7 separate regions of the Homo sapiens genome follow, and all the other regions are linked to region 2. Evidence: promoter capture Hi-C in 16 types of primary human blood cells and fetal thymus (Javierre and others, 2016). All regions are on one chromosome and are shown on one strand. Each heading gives the region's core, a stretch centred on a gene start or on the middle of the fragment in contact. The rest is flanking DNA. Distances are from core to core; before and after follow the strand shown.

Evidence for each region. Contacts are between HindIII fragments. The CHiCAGO score rates a contact against its expected background, and 5 or more counts as called.
Region 1: a fragment that was not itself captured here is called in contact with the fragment with the promoter of PLEKHH2 in region 2 in 6 of 17 cell types (activated CD4 T cells, naive CD4 T cells, total CD8 T cells and 3 more); the score reaches 7.2 in activated CD4 T cells.
Region 3: a fragment that was not itself captured here is called in contact with the fragment with the promoter of PLEKHH2 in region 2 in 5 of 17 cell types (neutrophils, naive CD8 T cells, naive B cells and 2 more); the score reaches 6.6 in neutrophils.
Region 4: a contact is called between a fragment that was not itself captured here and the fragment with the promoter of PLEKHH2 in region 2, in 1 of 17 cell types (non-activated CD4 T cells). The highest score is 5.0, in non-activated CD4 T cells.
Region 5: a contact is called between a fragment that was not itself captured here and the fragment with the promoter of PLEKHH2 in region 2, in 8 of 17 cell types (activated CD4 T cells, total CD8 T cells, monocytes and 5 more). The highest score is 10.7, in activated CD4 T cells.
Region 6: the fragment with the promoter of HAAO here is called in contact with the fragment with the promoter of PLEKHH2 in region 2 in 4 of 17 cell types (total CD4 T cells, naive B cells, fetal thymus and 1 more); the score reaches 6.7 in total CD4 T cells.
Region 7: a fragment that was not itself captured here is called in contact with the fragment with the promoter of PLEKHH2 in region 2 in 7 of 17 cell types (neutrophils, naive B cells, total CD8 T cells and 4 more); the score reaches 8.5 in neutrophils.

The regions. Positions count from the first base shown.
Region 1 is chr2:42,814,754-42,817,453 of GRCh38, forward strand. No RefSeq gene overlaps it. Among named protein-coding and RNA genes, the nearest start is that of TRI-TAT2-1, 5.6 kb to the left of the region's middle. The HindIII fragment of the contact is 467 bases long and covers 1,027-1,493 here.
Region 2 is chr2:43,635,990-43,638,689 of GRCh38, forward strand. It overlaps PLEKHH2 (pleckstrin homology, MyTH4 and FERM domain containing H2), which reads left to right and starts at 1,271. Exons shown (of 30, transcript NM_172069.4): 1 at 1,271-1,390. RefSeq lists a silencer at 1,175-1,504. The HindIII fragment of the contact is 11,276 bases long and covers 1-2,700 here.
Region 3 is chr2:42,903,608-42,906,307 of GRCh38, forward strand. No RefSeq gene overlaps it. Among named protein-coding and RNA genes, the nearest start is that of TRI-TAT2-1, 94 kb to the left of the region's middle. The HindIII fragment of the contact is 9,825 bases long and covers 1-2,700 here.
Region 4 is chr2:42,920,408-42,923,119 of GRCh38, forward strand. LOC105374568 (a long non-coding RNA gene) reads right to left here. Exons shown (of 3, transcript XR_940014.3): 1 at 2,239-2,712; 2 at 1,227-1,269; 3 at 1-816. Among named protein-coding and RNA genes, the nearest start is that of TRI-TAT2-1, 110 kb to the left of the region's middle. The HindIII fragment of the contact is 5,075 bases long and covers 1-2,712 here.
Region 5 is chr2:42,831,143-42,833,866 of GRCh38, forward strand. No RefSeq gene overlaps it. Among named protein-coding and RNA genes, the nearest start is that of TRI-TAT2-1, 22 kb to the left of the region's middle. The HindIII fragment of the contact is 3,429 bases long and covers 1-2,724 here.
Region 6 is chr2:42,791,270-42,793,969 of GRCh38, forward strand. HAAO (3-hydroxyanthranilate 3,4-dioxygenase) reads right to left here and starts at 1,314. Exons shown (of 10, transcript NM_012205.3): 1 at 1,188-1,314. The coding sequence starts at 1,267. RefSeq lists silencers at 1,161-1,600, 1,781-1,880, 1,961-2,050. The HindIII fragment of the contact is 4,290 bases long and covers 1,088-2,700 here.
Region 7 is chr2:42,881,637-42,884,336 of GRCh38, forward strand. No RefSeq gene overlaps it. Among named protein-coding and RNA genes, the nearest start is that of TRI-TAT2-1, 72 kb to the left of the region's middle. The HindIII fragment of the contact is 2,382 bases long and covers 79-2,460 here.

The DNA.
Region 1 (2,700 bases), core at 10-2,509, 820 kb before region 2:
GGAGAATCTCTTGAACCTGAGAGGCGGAGGTTGCAGTGAGCCAAGATCACACCACTGTATTCCAGCCTGGGAGACAGAGTGAGACCTTGTCTAAAAAAAAAAAAGCCGGGCCATCTGGGGCCCTTATTCCTATATGGCAAGACTGACTGCCCATCTTGGATGTGTATGTGGCTTTCGGTTTGCCACGGTCCCTGTCACTCTCCATTATTCTCCAACACAGAGGTAGGTGCCAGCTGCCTTGATTCACTGGCTTGCTTTGCTGTTTTCTTTATCCCAGGCTCATTTCAGTCATTTGTACCCTACAGATATTGAGTGTGTGGCCTCCATATGGGTAAAGGGAGGGAATCCTGTTGAACTCTCAGTAGGTCAGAACACAGCCAGAGGGCTGTGATCTGTAGAAACAAGCTCATTTAAAATTCAACAAAACGAAACCAAAGCCCAATTCTTTATTATGGAAAATTTCAAACATACACAAAAGTAGAGAGAACAGTATAGTTAACCCCCATGTTTCCACTTTTAAAGAATTGTCAACATTGTTTTATCTATATCCTTCCCACAACATTCACCCCTTACCTCTGGAATATTTTAGAGGAAATCCTAGATATGGTTTAATTTAACCTGTCAAAACTTCAGCATATATACCCAACAGGTAATCACTTTTTTAAAAAAGCATAACCATGGTATCATTATTACACCCAACAAGAGTAATAATAATTACTTAGCTTCATCTCATACCTCATCTGCTTTCAAATTGCTACCCATATCTCTGAAAAATATTTTTACAGAAGATTGGTTTGTTTGAATCAAGATCCAAATATGGGCTGTCCTTGGCATTTGATTGGTGTATCCTTTAAGATATTTAAAGGATAAATCTCTTTTAATCTATTCGAATTTCCTCTCTTTTCACCCCCTTTTATGACATTTCTTTGTTGACCTTTAGAATTTCCCACAGATTTTGGCTAATTGCATGCTCAAGGTTTTCTTCAGCCCCATGTTCTTCAATCCCTCATGGCAATTATATCTAGAAGCTTTATAATATTCAGATTATTTTTCCCCCAAAATATATTCTAGATGGTACTGTGTGCTATTGCACCACAAAAGAAAGTACATAATGTCTGGCTGTCCCACATTTAGAAATATGGCTTTTGATTGATGATTTCAGCATGGTCAGCAGAATCCATCCATTATAAAATCCTTCATCAGCCTCTAATCCTTCATCAGCGTGGTTGGCTGAATCCATCCATTATAAAGTCCTTCACCAGCCTCTAACCTAATGTTTTAGCAGCCGTTGATTATCTTGGTCTAAATCTATTATTTTTATTGAGGATTCCCCAATGGTGCTTTTCTAATTCTATTATTCCTTCTGTATTTATGACTATGGAAGCACAATTCACATAAGAAAGACTGGATAATTTCTTGATTCTTTCTCTTTTTCCACCAATCTTTGATTCCCTAATAATTTCTAAAGATAACCAATAAGTTTTAAATTTTAAAGCTTTTCTGAGTTATAGTTTATGTACAATGAATTGCATTAATAATGTTGAGTAGCTTTTCATATGCTTATTAGACATTAATATATCCTCTTTGGTGAAGTATTTTTTTGTTTTTTGTTTTTGAGATGGGGTCTTGTTTTGCCCCCCAGCCTAGAGTGCAGTGGCATGATATCACAGCCTCAAACTCCTGGATTCAAGCAATCCTCCTGCCTCAGCCTCCCCAGTAGCTGGGACCACAGGTGCAAGCCACCACTCCGGTCTTCTGTCTGCTTTTTATTGAGTTGTTTCTCTTTTCATTATTGGGTTGTAGAGATTTTCTGTATAATCTAGATGTAGTTCCCTTGTTGGATATATAATACGTATATTTTTTGAGACAGAGTCTTGCTCTGTCACCCAGGCTGGAGTGCAGTGGTGCAATCTCAGCTCACTGCAATCTCCGCCTCCCAGGTTAAACCGATTCTCCTGCCTCAGCCCCCCAAGTAGCTGGGACTACAGGTGCACACCATCATGGCCAGCTAATTTTTGTATTTTTAGTAGAGACAAGGTTCACCATGTTGGCCAGACTGGTCTTGAACTCCTGACCTCAGGTGATCCATCCACCTCGGCCACCCAAAGTGCTGGGATTTCAGGCATGCACCACTGTGTTTGGCCTGTGGATATATAATTTGTAATTACTTCCAGTTTGTGGCTTGGGTTTTCATTTTCTAATATCTGTTAACGAGCAAAATCTTAACATTTTGATGAAGTTCAATTCATTGATTTCTTTACCCATTATTGATTGTACTTTTGGTGCTATATCTAAATAACCTTTGTTTAACTCAAGGTCACCAAGATTTTAGTCCATGATTTAGTTCTTATATTTAGGTTTATGCTCCATTTTGAGTTGACTTAATTTTTGTGTATGGTGTGAGGTAAAGGTCTCATTTTGAGGGGGGTTGGGGTATGTGAGTATCTAAATTATGGCACCATTTGTTGAAAAGCTTATTCTTTCCTGATCAAATTGCCTTGGCATCTTATCAAAAACAAGCTGTCCATAAATGTGTTGCTCTATTGCTGTACTATCGTTCTATTCTATTGACCTGTCAGTATGGTGTTATGCCAACACTACACTGTGGTGATTACTGTAGATTTAGAGTAAGTTTGGAAACCAGGTATTATAAGTTCTCCAATTTTGTTCTTCTCTTTCAAAATGCTTTTGGCCATTGCA
Region 2 (2,700 bases), core at 21-2,520:
CCTTTTTTTTTTTTTTTGTCTCAGATGGAGTCTTGCTCTGTAGGCAGGCTAGAGTGCAGTGGTGCTATCTTGGCTCACTGCAACCTCCGCTTCCCAGGTTCAAGCGATTCTCCTGCCTCAGCCTCCCGAGTAGCTGGGACTACAGTCGTGCACCACCACGCCCAGCTAATTTTTGTATTTTTAGTACAGACCAGGTTTCACCATGTTGGCCAGGATGGTCTCGATCTCTTGACCTCGTGATCTGCCCTCCTCGGCCTCCCAAAGTGCTGGAATTACAGGCATGAGCCACTGCGCCCGGCCCAGAGACGACATTTCTGCCAGGTGGAGCGACAGACATAGTTACATGGAGAAGATGATGATGATGATGATGATGATAATGATGATGATTTGAGACAGGATCTCGCCCAGTCGCCCAGGATCCAGTGCAGTGGCATGATCGCGGCTCACTGCAGCCTCCATCTCCTGTGTTTAAGCAATCCTCCAGCCTTAGCCTCCTGAGTAGCTGGGACTACAAGTGAGCGCCACCAAGCCCAGCTAATTTTTTTTTTTTGTGTGTATATATATATATATATATATATATTTTTTTTTTTTTTTTGGTAGAGACAGGGTTTCACCATGTTGCCCAGGCTCGTCTCGAACTCCTGGCCTCAAGTGATCCACCTGCCTCGGTCCCCCAAAGTACTGGGATTACAGGCGTGAGCCACTGCGCCCGGTGAGAAGATTATTCTGAGCTTTTTGAAGTGGAGACAGGAAATAGCATGTAAACGCTCCTAGTGCCACTTCCTTCGGGTGGCGAGGTGCACAGCAGTAGTCTCAGGTGTGTGAAGGGCAGCTGTGAGAAATAAACCTGAAAAGACGGGATGGAGACCTTGAACACTAGACTAGGGAATCTGTTCTTGATAATTTAAGCAAACGGAAGCCAATGAAAGTCTTTGGCACACTGTTCATCAAAACTGCTCTTAAGGAAATTAACCTGGCAGGAAGATGAAGGGTGGATTGGCAAGAGGAGAGACTTCAGACTGGGAGACCAAGGGAGGGTGCTGCAACAGTCCAGGCAGACGGAGTGGAATGAAGGTGACCGGCCGCTGCAGCAAGCTCTGGAGTCTCGCAGTTGGGACGTTAGGGGTACCACTCCAGGACAGAGCTCCCTCCTGGGGCAGGGACTGGGAGGAGCCAAAGTTATAGCCACACCCCCGGTGACGCCCGGTGGTCGGCTGTGGTCTCCCATTGGCTACACCGGCTGCCAGTCCCTGGAGGAGGCGGTGCCCTTCCCCGCCCTCTCCGAGCTCGGCTTGAGGCGGGCGCGGGCTGAGAGTCCGGGGATCCCGGGGGCCAGTCGCGGCCGGGACATCGGGCGCTGCGGCCGGGGACCCGCTGCTGAGATAGACAGGTGAGAAAGCCCGGGGACGAGGGGCCACTCCAGAGTTCCTGCCACCCTGGGATCCCCGCCCCCTTGAGGGCGCCCCGTCCAGGGGGGCTCGCGGGGCCGAGGTTTGGGGCGCCGGGAGGAGCGGGAAGGCGGGGACGAGAGGGACGGAGCGGGCTGACTCGGGATCCGCCGCTGCACCTCCCGCCACAGCCCAGAGTCGGCCCCCAAGTCTGGATGTCGCCGGGAGAGGTGGGCAGGGGGCGGTGGCCGGCGGTCCCTCGCGCCCGTGGGCTCCCGTGACGTTCTGTTTGGAAACACTGGGCCCGGGCTTCTGGCGCGGCGCGAGCGGTCCCGGGGGCGCAGCGGGGCAGCCCAGGGTCCCCGAGCCGAGGGACCCGCGCGGTCAGGGATGCCGCGCTCGCCTTAGGCTTCGGGAGATCCACCAGGATCTCCGGGGCGAAACTTTAAACTCAAAACTTTAAAGAAGCATTTTGTACACCTCGAGTTGCTGGCACGTCAAAGCACCCTAAGGTGACCTACCCGGAAACCACTGTCCCCGAAGTTAGTGGGGCACTTTTTAAAGGACAACACTTTTTACCCGTCGATATTGTTGTGCGTAACGCTGTGGAAATAGAAGTCGAACCACTTACATTGGAAAAGCTCTGGTGGTGGGCTACCTGAGGGTCACTGCTTTCTTTGTGAAAATGCCAGTCTTGGAAGCCTGGCCCGCACAGCGGTGTGTCCCAGAGGAGTATGTAGTGAGGAGCTCGGCTGTTCTGGGCAGGGTCACCGAAGGGCAGGCGTTGCCCAAGTGGGGCTAGGTGGCTAGGTGGTGGTCAGAAGGTTCCTTAAACAAGGCATGCCTCAGTCTCGTCGAGAAAGATCTTTTAACACACACACACACACACACACACACACACACACACACACTCACACACACGATTACCCAGCCCAGTTAAGCTGTCCCTTAAGAGGCAAAAACTAAAGAATATCATAGAGACTAACGCTGCGCTTCATCAGGGTAAGCCTAAGTAGAATAATTCTTTCATTTCTTTTTCTTTCCTTTTTGGGATTTGGAAGAGAAACAGGAAGTCAGAGATTCAGAGAAAAGAGCATTCACTCCACAATTGTAAACAGTTTATCTTATGTCAGTAAATACTTCCAAAAATCACTGGGGGTATTTGGAACTCCAAGACTTTTTCCTGTCCCCTGAAGTGAAGATAGATTATTTTCAAATGCAGAATCTAGACATGATAGATTCCTTTCAAATTCAGAATCTATATGTGGTATTTTCTTTATTTAGCAGTCGGCTATGTTATATAGTTATATAT
Region 3 (2,700 bases), core at 194-2,693, 730 kb before region 2:
GGGCCAGCAATCCTGCTGCCCCCTGCCACTGCCCTGGGACTGACTTTTGGAATCAAAGGTGGAAAGCTGGGAGAAGGAAGGAAGGAAGCAGAAAGGGAAGGAAGGAAGGGAGTGGAGGGGTGGGAGTTAGAAAGCCACCCCTGTCGCAGGGCTGCAGGGAGAAGCTCCCAGGGTTTTATCTGTAGAGGAGCAAACTGTCTGGCACATAGTAAGCACTCCCTGCAAATACGCCAGGGTGGCTGTGGGTCTCATGTGTTGGTTTATCCATTTCTGAGAACCCAGGGGAGGAAGAATGCCTGCTACGCTTGCCTCCCGTCGCTTGGTTGGCCTGAGGGCCAAGAAAACCAGCACAAAAGCTGAACAGTCTGCGCCCCATGGGGGCTCCCCTGGGGTATGGGCTGTTCCAACTGTGCAGGGCATGGATTCACCTTTGCTGTCTGTGAACAAAGCAGGACCAGTGTCAACAGGACACTTGAGCAGCTGGGACTGAGAAGCGGTTTAACCCACTTAGCGAATCTGCTGCTTAGAAACACAAACAAATAACGAGTGTGCTAATTACCAGTGACAACAAGCCTTGATCATTTCAACACCCATCAGTCATCTCATTTAAATCTCCCGACAGCCTGCGAGATAGGACAGTGTTCTTCCTGTCCAGGATCTACAGATGAGGTCACGGAGAGCCAGGGGGGTGAGGAAACTTGGGCAAGTCAACACGGCTGAGCCCAGACTCACACTTAGGCCTGAGCATCACCTCTTCCTGCCTGTTTCCCATCCCATCCACTCATTCCTGGTGGTCCTTGGCCAGCGAGGGAGTTGGTGGTAGTTTGGAGTGTCCGTCTCTCCCGATGGTGGAGTGGTGACCACTGTCTCAGCACCCACAGGAGGGGAGGCCACCCCAGGATAGTCCCAGCATTTGGGCAGTTCAGGTCTCAGGTTCCCCGGGCTATTATGCTGCTGGTGAACTGGGGGCTTGGAGTGGGGCAGGGGCAGGAACATGGGCCTTGGAGTCAGTCAGGCCTAGGATTCCAAACCCAAGCAAGGGCTTAGAAACCATGTGACTCCAGGTGAGTCACCTTCTGTGCCTGAACCGCATTTCCTTCAACTATAAGCTGGTTGGGCAGGGGGTATAATAATTCCAGTTTCTGATAATTGCCTTGAGTAGGTGCACAAGAAATGTTCTTTCATCTCTGTGGCCACGGAGCCCTCACAATCACCCAGGAGGAGGCTGTGCAGCGTGAGGGAGGCCTCTGTCTGATGGTAGGTGAGAAGAAGGCCAAGGGCAAAGGAGGCTGGAAAGGGAATAACATCTCAGCGTCTTCCCCAGCCAGAGACCCCTTGAATGTATCTGCAGCCCTCTGTAGTGTCTCAAGTGCTGGACACACTTAACCCAGGATGGTTGTCAGCCCATTTTACAGTTGAAGCTGCGGCCTGGAGGCAAGGGAGTTCCCTTTACATGCCCAGCTTGCTTTGGGCACTGTGGCACCTTATTTCATCCTGATAAGACCCTATGAGGTAGTCTATATTATATCCATTTATTGCTGAGGCAACTGAGGCTCAGGGAGGAGTAATTGACCCAGGGTCACACAGCTCCCAGATGGGGAAATAAGGTTGATACTCAATGGAATCTAACTACAAAGCCTGTGCTCATTCTGCCCCACCACGAGGACAGGACAAATGCCCTGCTCCATTCTGGATGGACTCCCAGTCCAGTGCTCTTTTCTTGACCCATATTACCCTTTTCTGTGCGGAGCCTTCAGGGGACACTAAGTTAAGAGACGATGGCTGTGCTTTTGCCTTCTCGGGGCCACCCCATTTCCAGTGCGCTCCCACTTGGCTATGGCTTGACTTCCTGGAATGAGAGTGAAAGATCAGTGCCCTGAGAACCCCCCACTGTGCAGCTCAGCCCCACGGCTTTCACATGACCTCTTCCCTGTTTGGAAGAGCTGGCTCCGGTTTGCACAGTCCTTTTTCCCAGCTACGAGTCCTTGCGTTCAGCAGGGCTGCTGGGTGGGTGCTCCTCCGTCACCAGCACCATGGCTTGCACCTGCGCAGGATGGACGCCTGACCCATCAGCCCTGCCTGGGTAGGCCAGGTGCCGCTCTGGATCTAGGAGGCCATCCCCTGGGGCCAAGGTGGTCGCTTCTCCCAAGCGGTCATGTGGTTCAACGCTCTGATTTCTGTGGCCCCGGACGGCGGGTGGAGGACGGGGTGTGAAAGGGTTAATGTAATTTTGGCTGTGATTCCATTTTGGCATCTGCAAGTCAACTTAATAGGCTCTCAGTTTTCCTGTTGCCTCACCGATGAAACAGAAACCAGACCACAAGGGGGTCTGGAGATGTTTAACCGGCGATGCCTCCTGGTGGGCAGCAGGGTCTCCTCCGAGATAGCACCAGAAATGACTGCTAGAAACTCGGCCGTGCTGGGCTTCTGGGTCACCAGGACAAGGGAAGGGGCAGGGAACTGGGGTGCCCTGGAAAGTCCAGCTCTAGGCAGAGGGGAAAGAAGGTGGGTGCAGGGTCCACAGATTCATGCTGGGATCCTGGCTCCCCGACCTTGAGATCTTTGATCCTTAGCCTGCCAGGGGTTTCTGCCTCTCAGGATTCAGTACCTACGAGAGCACTGAGCTTGGCACAGAGTATGTCCAGCTCAATAACTGCCAGCCCTGCTGAACTTCTGGCTTCTCTCTCTCCTGCTCTCCTT
Region 4 (2,712 bases), core at 102-2,601, 720 kb before region 2:
CACACACGTAAGTCCAGCTCATCTCAATCCAAACCACCACAGACTCACCCCGCCCACTCCTTCTTCTGTCCTCCCACCCCCTCCTTCCCTCTGCTTGGCATGGGGATGGCAGAGCCCACCGGACCTGGGTTTCAGTCTGGTGGTGCCACATGGTCTTGAAGGTACTCTGGCTGTGAGGGGCCGCTCCCATGTTGTCTTCCATCTCTGGGACAAGATGGTAGGTTGGGAGTGGGGAGCTCTGGCCGTTGGAGCCTCTAAGAAGGAGACAAGACACACCTGGGGGCTGGGCTAAGGACTGAGGGGCTCCAGAGAGAACAGGATTGGGGCCAGCTGGCTCCTGCCTTCAGCCCCTCCAGCCTTTCTGGTTTAGGCCTTTCAAAGGCCCCTCACCCTGCCGGCAGAAGGAGAGTCCCAGGTGAGCTGCGTGCAGGGAGCAGGCGAGACATTCGTGCTGTGAGGGATGATTGTGACTCAGCAGGCTCCTGAGGGTGTTTCTTGGGGACTCCACCTCCCTGGCTAGACCTACTTCTGGGCTGGTACCCGGCCCTCCCCACTGGACCCCTGAGCCTTCACTTCTCTCGTGCTAAAGAACATTCTAGGCCCTGAGAATGGCTGGGGGAGCATAGGCCTTTTTCCCAGGGACCTCCCCAACTCGGCTGCTGGCGCATTAGGCAGGCTGTGTGTTGCGTGTCTCCTCCGGTGGCCAGGGAGCCTTGGTAATTAAGACGATGATTTCCACCTCGATGGGCAGTCTCACTGGCCAGGATTGAGGCTTGGGTCACTCTCCGCATCCCAGGTACACAGGGGCTGTCCAGTCTGAGAAGGGAGATAAGGGGGACAGAATATCAGAAACAGAAATGGGGGCCAGATGAATGGGGCAGGGCATCCCAGAGGGGATGGGGCCATCTGCTGGTATCTGAGGCTGGCTGGGCCAAGCCCGTGGGATAGAGTGGAACACCAGCAGCTGGTCACCAGCAATGTCCCCGCCACCAGCAGAGTCAAGGGCAATCAACCAGCTGCATCTGCTGGTCTTATAGAGAACTCACAGCCCTCTCCCTGGACCTTCTTCAGGGAATTCTGGGGACAGGACAGAGGCTTGGACTGGAGTGTGGAGACCAAGAAAAAGCTGGGAATGCACTGGGGTTTGGAGGCAAAGGGGGGTCCCAAGGGCTTCTGCCCACTCTTGCGTGCCTCAGAAAGAAGGGCTGAGAGCTGATGACAGATACCTGAGGACTGTGGCCACTGTGGCTGGATGAGGTGGTGTGTGTCCTACAAAATGCAAAGAGAGAAATGAGAAGGGAGGTGAAATTCGACCTTCAACACCAAGGAAAGGAAAGGGAGTGGGAAAAGACGCCCAGCTTGGGGTTCCTTGTTCTGGACTTGTCCTACTCCTGCTGCCTCAGCACTCAGCCCCTGGAGGCCCCGCTGTGGAAAGAAACAAGAGACTGGAGATGCTGGCTCCCTGGGTTGGACTGGGCAGTGCCTGGGATAACAGCTTCTGTGGGGGTTGGGAATGCCCCTGTAGCATCTGGTCACTGTGCTGGAGTAGACTGGAGTTCATCCCCAGAAGGAAGAGTCATTCCAAGCATCCAGTCATTGCTCCCAGGACTCCCAGTGGGCCATGGAGCTGACACTGGGCCCAAACTAGGGAGGACCCTTAAGTTCTTAAATGTGTCTCCCGCCTGCAATCCTGCCTCTGCACCCTTGCTCCCCACATCCAAGGCCATCCACCATCCTAATCTACTGCCCTCCTTGACGCAAGTTCCCCTCTTCCCGACAGTCTTTGTTGAATGCTCTCCCACATAGGTGTGGGTTGGGAAGGGGTGAGTGGATCTTGAAGCATGCTAAGGTTTGGCTTAGTAGAAAGGGAAGGGCACTGTCCACTCTGCTCACTCCACTCCATCTCCCAGCCTCTTCCTCTCCCCAGGCAGCATTGAAATCTGGGTTCAAACTACTCCAGAGCACCAGGCCAGCACCTCCCTCTCCAGACCCACATCCCTAACAGCCAGCCAGGTACATGGCCAAGGCCAATACACCAGCCTCTCCCTGGATTCCTGCTGCCACCCTTCACTCAGCCAAGCTGTCCACAATCCTGGTATTCATCCTTAACAACAGCCCGGCCCTTGTCCCCCCCATGCTGGTTCATCACAAGCCTCTCTCACTCCCTCCTAAATATTTCTTACAACTGTCCCCTCATCTCCATCCCCCCGGCCCCAAGTCCAAGCTATCACTGCTCACCTGGGTGACAGCCACATCCTCTGAACTTGTTTTGTGTCTGTGCTTTAGTTTGTGCTTTCTGCACATTTTCAGTCGAATGAACTTTCTAAAATGCTAAGCTGCTCATGTCTTTCCTCTCTTTAAAGCCCTGGCAGGCTCCCTACTGCTGACCCTATGAAGCCCTGGCTTCTTGGGCCAGTGGACTTTGCTCCCTGTGACCTGGGCCCATCCCTTCTCCAGCCCCTTCTCTGGCCTCTCCCCATGCTCAAACTTTCTATCCAGGCCTAGTGAACTGCTGGCATGTCCCAGACCTACTAGGCTCTCCCTTACTCCTTTGCACATGCTGTTCTCTGTGCCTGGCAGGCTTGTTCTGGTCACCCGCTCTCAGACCACCTCTGATCTCTTAGTGAAGTCATTCCTGACATTCCAGTTCCCAGATCATCTCATCCTGTGCTGGGTCTGAGCACGCATCGCCAGCATTGCTTCTTTGACTCT
Region 5 (2,724 bases), core at 206-2,705, 800 kb before region 2:
TCTTAGCCTGGGGCCAAGGCAAGACCAATTCATAGGATGAAAGGAAGGCTGTGATTGGTGGGCTCTTGTCCAGGCTCCTCATTTGTCCTTTCCTACTGGAGGAAATGTGACATGGGCAATTCAAGCCAATAGGGAACCTGGGGAAGGGGCTGGTGGTGGGTTTCATTCACTGCTTTCCCTCACGTGACTCCCTCAGGAAGGGGGTCTTACTGGGCAGGGCTGAGGCAGATGGCCACACTTACAGGTACTCACTGGCACATGTGGCTGGATGTGGGGGTGGGGTGGGGTAAATAACCATAGCTACCTCATGTAGTTGTTGCAAGGATGAAATTACTTAATCCTTTCTTTTTGAGACGAAGTCAGGCTCTGTCACCCAGGCTGGAGTGCAGTGGCACGATCTCAGCTCACTGCAACCTCCGCCTCCCTGGTTCAAGCAATTCTCCTGCCTTAGCTTCCCAAGTAGCGAGGATTATAGATGCCTGCCACCATGCCCGGCTAATTTTTGTATTTTTAGTAGAGACAGGGTTTCGCCGTGTTGGCCAGGCTGGTCTCGAACTCCTGACCTCAAGTGATCCGTCTGAGAGACAGGACTAGCTGGATTTCCTAGGCCGACTAAGACTCCCTAAGCCTAGCTGGGAAGGTGACCGCGTCCACTTTTAAACGCGGGGCTTGCAACTTAGCTCACACTGACCAATCAGGTAGTAAAGATAACTCACTAAAAAGCTAATTAGGCAAAAACAAGAGGTAAAGAAATAGCCAATCATCTGTCTCCTGAGAGCACAGCAGGAGGGACAGTGATCGGGATGTAAACCCAGGCATGCGAGCCGTCAACATCTACCCTCTTTGGGTCCCCTCCCTTTGTATGGGAGCTCTGTTTTCACTCTATTAAATCTTGCAACAGCACTCTCTTCTGGTCTGTGTTTGTTACGGCTGGAGCTGAGCTTTCGCTCGCCGTCCACCACTGCTGTTTGCCGCCATGGCAGACCCGCCGCTGACTTCCATCCCTCCAGACACAGGGTGTCCGCTGTGCTCCTGATCCAGCGAGGCACCCATTGCCACTCCCGATGGGGCTAAAGGCTTGCCATTGTTCCTTCATGGCTAAGTGCCCGGGTTCATCCTGATCGAGCTGAACACTAGTCACTGGTTTCCACGGTTCTCTTCCATAACCCATGGCTTCTAATAGAGCTTTAACACTCACCTCATGGCCCAAGATTCCATTCCTTGGGATCCGTGAGGCCAAGAACCCCAGGTCAGAGAACATTAGGCTTGCCACCATCTTGGAAGCAGCCGGCTGCCATTTTGGAAGCCACCTGCCACCATCTTGGGAGCTCTGGGAGCAAGGACCCCCCAGAAACATGTCCACCTCGGCCTCCCAAACTTAATCCTATTTATAGTGTTAGAACAATGCCTATGATATCGTAAATCAGGCTGGATGTGTACTTGCCATTTACATCCACGTATGTGTATGTTTCCATGTGAATACCTGTAGAACTTAATGCCTGACACAGAAGGCACTCAATAGATGCCAGTTGTTCTTATCATTGGACACACAGAAACATAGACACAGACACTTAGATGAGTATATCTTCATAAACAAAGACATAAAGACACCCCTATACCTTTACTAGATACACTTGAATTTACATTTGCAGATGCGGATATACACAGTCACACATCATAATTATAACTAACACCTATTGGTAATTTACTATATCATAGGCATTGTTCTAACACTATAGAAAGGATTATGTAATTTCATCCTTGCAACAACTGCATGAGACAGGTATAGTTATTTACTCCCACATAGAGGTCAATTGAGTCACATAGAGGTCAACTCAAGCTCACAAAGCCAGTAATTGGTAGACTTGGGATTCAAGGCCAGGTAGTCCGGCCTCAGAGCCTGCACATGTAACCAGTGGCAATTCTGCTCACAGACACCCACTGTCTTCCACACAGTCTCAGTCATAGACCTTCACCCAGGCAAAAAGAAATCTCCCACCTACAAGTAGATGCACTTCCATGGTCACAAAACTGACGTGGGATCCTTGCACACACGTGCGGAGCCAGAGGCTCTGTCTGAGCCTTGCAGAAACTCCTAGCATTCAGATTAACTGGTCAAATGTGATAGTGTATTTTCTTGGTGAGTGGGCTTCCAAACAGCTCTGATTCTGCACCTGTCCAGGTGTTAGGTTTATAGCCCCCACTTTTTTGAGGGACTTGGGGAGGAGGCCAGTTCTGTCTTTACCTCTAGTGGCTAAATCAAGTTTTGGCCTTGTCTGAGGGTTTCAGGATCCCTGGTCGTTTCCCCACCTGCTTGTCTTCTGTGAGTGCTGGATATTGCCTGTGGGTGGATTTTTAAAATTTTAATTATTATTATTATTTTTATTATTATTATTTTGAGAAAAGGTCTTGCTCTGTCGCCCAGGCTGGACTACAGTGGCATAATCACTGGTCACTGCAGCCTGGATCTTCTGGGCTCAAGCCATCTTCCTGCCTCAACCTCTCGAGTAGCTGGAACCACAGATGCGCACCACCTCAACAGGCTTAAAAAATTTTTTTTGGTGGGGCATGGTGGCTCACGCCTGTAATCCCAGCACTTTGGGAGGCTGAGGTGGGCGGATCACAAAGTCAGGAGTTCGAGACTAGCCTGACCAACATGGTGAAACCCCCACTCTACTAAAAATACAAAAATTAGCCAGGTGTGATTGTGCATGCCTGTAATAC
Region 6 (2,700 bases), core at 64-2,563, 840 kb before region 2:
CAAGAATACCAATGATGCCAGCAAACCACCAAATGCTAGGGAGAGGCCCGGGCAGATGGACGCGAGACCTCAGGGGGAGCGAAGGGAGGACTGAGAAGGAGCGACTGCAGATGGGGATGAAGTGTTGGAAGGAGGCAAAGATGATGCTACATCTTTAATTGGGGGTGGGCAACAACAGTGATAGAAGAGATCTTTGGGGAGATATTGACTGTTGGCCATGTGGTATTGCATGGTAACCAAGAGTGTGCGTGGACTCTGGAGTCGAACTGCTCCGTGGGTTGAGTCTGGAGCCTATCGCACAGGCGCTCCGTGACACTAGAAAAGTTACTTATGAAAATCCCCCCTCACGGTGCTACTGTGAGAATGAGATGAGATGATGTAAAAACACTTGGCATAGTCCTGGGCCTGCTGTTTGCCTTGAGGTGCCACCCTACTGACCATGTCCTGTGGACACAGCAAAAATGGGGAATGTAAACCTTGATCTAGCTGGCATGTGGGGCCCCGCCATGGAACTGGGGGGATGAGGGAGGTGACCATACCACAGGGGAGGGCCTGAGAGGTCTGCCTGAGAAAGATGGCAGCTGGATGGCCAACCCTGTTGGGTGCTGCAGGCAGAGGCTACTGGCAGAGGTGGCCTAGGGAGGGTCTGGTGTGGTGTGTGTGTGTGTGTGTTCGTGCACACCTGCATAGAGGGGCCCTGAAAAAAGCAAGACATCAAGATCTTCCCAAAGGAGCGGATTCTCTGCCTCCCCCTTTGCCTGTGGCTTCTGGGACAGGGTTGGGGTGTATGATTTGGCTGCCCCCAGGCCTACATTCTAGTGCATTTCTGCCTTGAAAACCACCCTCCCCACACTTTTGAGTTTTCCCAAAATGCACAGTGTCACTTGGGGTTGGAGAATTGTTTCTCAGCCCTGGAAGGAGAGGTGCACCCTGTCATGTCATCTCCTACAGCCTGAGAACCAGCTCAGCCTTCTTCAGAAGTCAAGGCCACAGTCACAAGAAAGAGGAACAGACCGATGTGGTGGAACCGGAACAGCCTGTCTCCATCTTCCCCCAAGAACCAAGAGATTAAAGCGGTCCTTCTGCAAGCTTCTGGGTCCAGGAACTCGGAGCTGGAAGGTGAGGGCGCAGATGGAGGAGGGGGAGGAGGCGAGGGCAGGGGGCGGCCATGGGGGTGCTGGACTCACATGAGCTTGTTGCAGACCGGGGGCTGGAAGGAGCCCCGGTTCTCCTTCACCCAGGCCCTCACTCCCAGGCGGCGCTCCATGACTGTCCCGGGCGCCTCCTCGCAGCGCTGTCCTCCCGCCGTCGGAGGCCCGCAGCTCCGCCCAGCCGCCTTTTTAACCAGAATCCCAAGCTCACGAGGCGGAGCAAACCCCCGCGACCCCGTGGTGGGGGCTTGGGGCCCGCGGACTTTGCCCCCTGGTGGACTTTGGTCTGAGCCCGCCGCCCTCCGCGCCACTCCAGGCCCTGGCGAGCGCGGCGGCGGCAGCGCTGGGGAACGGCGTCCCGCGCCCTCTGCTTCTCCGCGGGGCAGGGGCTCGGTCCCCGCCACCGTCTCCGGGGCGCCCCACACACTGGCGCCTGCGGTGGGGCCTGCTCCCGGCGGAGGACAAAGAATCCAGACCCTTCCTGGACGCTTGTCCCCAGACGTTCCTTCCCTCTACGCCCCGAGGGGAATCCCAGGGAAGGTTCCCAGAAATACTACAGTGAGGAGATCGCGGGTTGGAAGTCCCAGCACCTGAGAACACGGTGCTGGCGCTGGGCTCAAGATTTGGCTTTCCCATCTGGAAAAGGGGAATGACTGCCCCGCCACTCAGGGCTGCGGCGCTCACCCAGCGGGAAGCCGCACGGCGGTCCCCGCAGGTCCCGATTCAAGGTGAGCCCCAGACCTGCTGCGTGCGGCCGGCAGACTCCGCCGCGGGCTCGGCGAGGGGAGCGGTGCAGGCGCCGAGCTGCGGAGCCCGGGCTCAGGGCAGGACCGCGAGCCCTCCCCACCTGAGGCCCAGCCGAGCGGCCGCTGTCCGCGCAGTGTCGCAGTGGACCCCGAGCCCCGTGCTGAACTCCTTAGGCGTCTTAGGAACATACTCAGTTCGCACGCAGCTATGGGAGGAATTTGGCAGATGTGGACACCGGCCTCAGTGTCCTAGCCCTCGGGAATCTCGGGGTGTTAATGATGACAGCCCCGTGTGAGAGACTCTAACAGTTATCCTGGGGGTGAGGGGCTGGGGCGCTGGGCCTGGGCGTGCATGTGTGAGGAAAGAGAAATCTGCGCGGGTGTGGAAGATGGAGAAGCCTGTCTTTCTGCAGGACTCAGAACTTTCTTAGGAAGTTTGGAGGGAGTGGGAGCTGACGGGTAGGGGAGGAGGAAAATGGCTCAGGCCCCTGACACCGGAATCCAGACTATAGAGTTTAAGAAACTAAACGCCTCTAAATCCTGCCCTCACAGCCCGCCTGGCCTGGGCTGGTTTTCTCAGCATTCCAGACATAAAGACTCCTCTAGTACAACTCAAAATCAAAACCCAGACGACAGGAAGCCGAATTCCCCACTGAGACCCTCCCGTTTCCTCTCTGACGCTCTTTTTTTTTTTTTCATTTTTCTCTCTCCTTTTTTTTAGTTATTTATCTAGCACAGTTTTAGCTGAGCACTTCTAGTGCAAAACTAGAATATCGTTTTGCACCCAAGTAACTCACACCACC
Region 7 (2,700 bases), core at 20-2,519, 750 kb before region 2:
GACTTCCCCTCTGTCACATTTCCCTTCTGTCAAGGGATATCGGAATAACTGTGGCATTTTGGGGATCCAGCTTAGGGAAGCTTGAATTGAGGGATGCATTTAATGTGGACAAATGGGATGTATTTATGTGGGATGCAATATATGTATATAATATTTCATGAGTGTGACTCTCAGTCACTTCCATGTATCATGACAATTATTGGGGAGGATTGGTTTCCAGGAATACTCCTACCACCCATGGTGTTGACTCACCTGGGGTGATGCAGCATGAATGTGTCCTATGGCTCTTAGTACAGGAAGCATGTAGGAAGTGGAAATGAAACAAGATTGAAATGCACACAGCCAGAAGCTGGTCTGTGGAAAAGTCCCTGTAGTCTTACAGCTCATGTTAGAGGTTTACTCCTAATTGACAACTGTGGTGATTAATTCTGTGTGTCAACTGGACTAGGTTAAGCGATGCCCAGATAGTTGATAAACCATTATTTTGGGATGTGTCTGTGAGAGTGTTTCCAGAAGAGATTTATATTTGAATTAGTAGATTAAGAAGACTGCCCTCACCAATGTGGGTGGGGATTATCCAATCTGTTGAGGGCCCAAATAAAACAAAAAGGCAGAGGAAGACAAACTTGTTCTCTGTCTCTGTTTGAGCTGAGACACCCATCTTCTCCTGCCCTTAGACAGTAGTGCTCCTGGTTGTTGGGCTTTGGACTTGGACTGAATTACACCACCAGCTTTCCTGGTTCTCTAGCTTGCAGATGGCAGATTGAGGGAGCTCTGAGCCTCTGTAATCACATAAGCCAACTCCTATAATCAATGTGTGTGTGTGTGTGTGTGTGTGTGTGTGTGTGTGTGTGTGTGTGTATCCCATTGGTTCTCTTTTTCAGGAGAACTCTGACTAATGCAGATTTTAGTATCAATAGTGGTTCTAGGAGAACAGAATTTTAAGGTTGAGTTTCCTGAATTGGTTCTGAGGTTTATGAGACTGGCCCTCTAATCTGATTGTTCATGGTGTTGGCTGTTTATAGAGATATGCAAAATATCTGCATTGGATACTTCTAATCAACCACTTATAAGAAGCAAGGAGCTACGTGACTTCATTTAAGATATTTCAAACATTTTTGGAAAATTGAGGAATATAATGACATTGGTTACTTGGTTACTTGTTTCTAATGTCATTGGACAGATTTGTAAAAGAAAAGGATGAGATCATGGATTCAAATTCCTAGCTCAAACAGTGCATAAAAGATCTTCTAGTTGTGCCCTGAAGGGCAACCTTATTTCAGGACTGAAATTGCTGAAAATCACATGCAAAACAAATCCTGTGACTGACTGAATGACAACTTCCCAGCCTCACATGGTCTCTACTGTTACAGTGAGGGCATTGACTGGGAAAGAATGATATCCTGTGAGTTGGGTGGGTGACCTATGGGAAGACCTTGATGAAGCTGGAGACCTTGAGCCTCTAAGTTCTCATAAGTCTTCTTTACCATGGAAGAGACTGGCCTACGCCCAGTGGAAGTGGCATCCCTACCCCCAGTGAAGTTGCCTACCCACCCTTAGCAAAAGTGGCTTCCTCACCCACAGTAGTGGGGATAAATCTTCATTGCCTGATGAAACAGTAATGGCCACCCCTGAAGCAGTTGCTATATAAGACAGGGCAGATTCACCCCTGGACCCACCTCATCAGCATTCTTTGCTTGTAGACCTATATCTAGACTCGAGTCCCAGAAGCCCCCTAAAGGTAAGGTACATAGTGTGACCCATGAGGAGGTGTACTGCCCCCAAAATAATTCCTTTATACAAGCAGAAATCTGGGGAACATGCATGGGAGTGGATATTGAGAGTGTGGGGTAATGGTGGAAGGAACATAAAGGTGAATCAGGCTGAATTTATTGCTATAGACCCACTAAGCAGAAATTCTGCATTCAATTTTGCAGGTGGGGGAGTTACAAAGGATTCTAACAGTTTGTTTGGCTGAAATATGGATCAAAAGGTAGGCCACCAAGAGTGAATTGGAAATGCCCGAGCTCCCTTGGTTTAACGCAGAGGAGGGGGTTCAAAGACTTAGGAGATTGGAATGTCCAAGTGAATCTGTCATTTAAGACCCCTTCACCCACACTGAGAAGGTCCAGAAGACATACCCTTTACCAGTATTTTGAGGAATAAATTTGTGAGGGGAGCCCCAGCATCCCTGGAGAGCTCTGTGGTCACTCTTTTCTATAGGCCAGACTTCACATTGGAAACCATAGCCACTCAACTGGAAATCTACATGCAACAGGGGGTAATTGGATTCCAAGGTGACAGGGCCAAGTGGCGGCACCCAGCCATCAAATGCAAGGTGGGTGTAGTTACCTTAATGCACAGCAGAGGCAAAGCACCAATCAGAATAATCCGGCTCATGCAGACTAGTATGGCATTGGCTAGTTAATCATGGTGTTCCTAGGAGTGAAATAGAGAAGAAGCTTACTAAGTTCTTTGTTGATTTTTCTAAGCAGAAAAGTTTTAAGTCAAGAGAACAAAAGTGTAACCCAAATCACCAAAACAGAGTCACAGCTCCTCGATCAGTTTTCAGACTTGACCAATTTATAAACCCAGAATCCCTTGAATGGAGGGGAGGCCGAGTCTCTTCAAGGAAGGACTCCCCTACAACATCCAAAATGTATGCTATTAGTCTTTCTCCCAGCCTTCTTCAAAGGGACC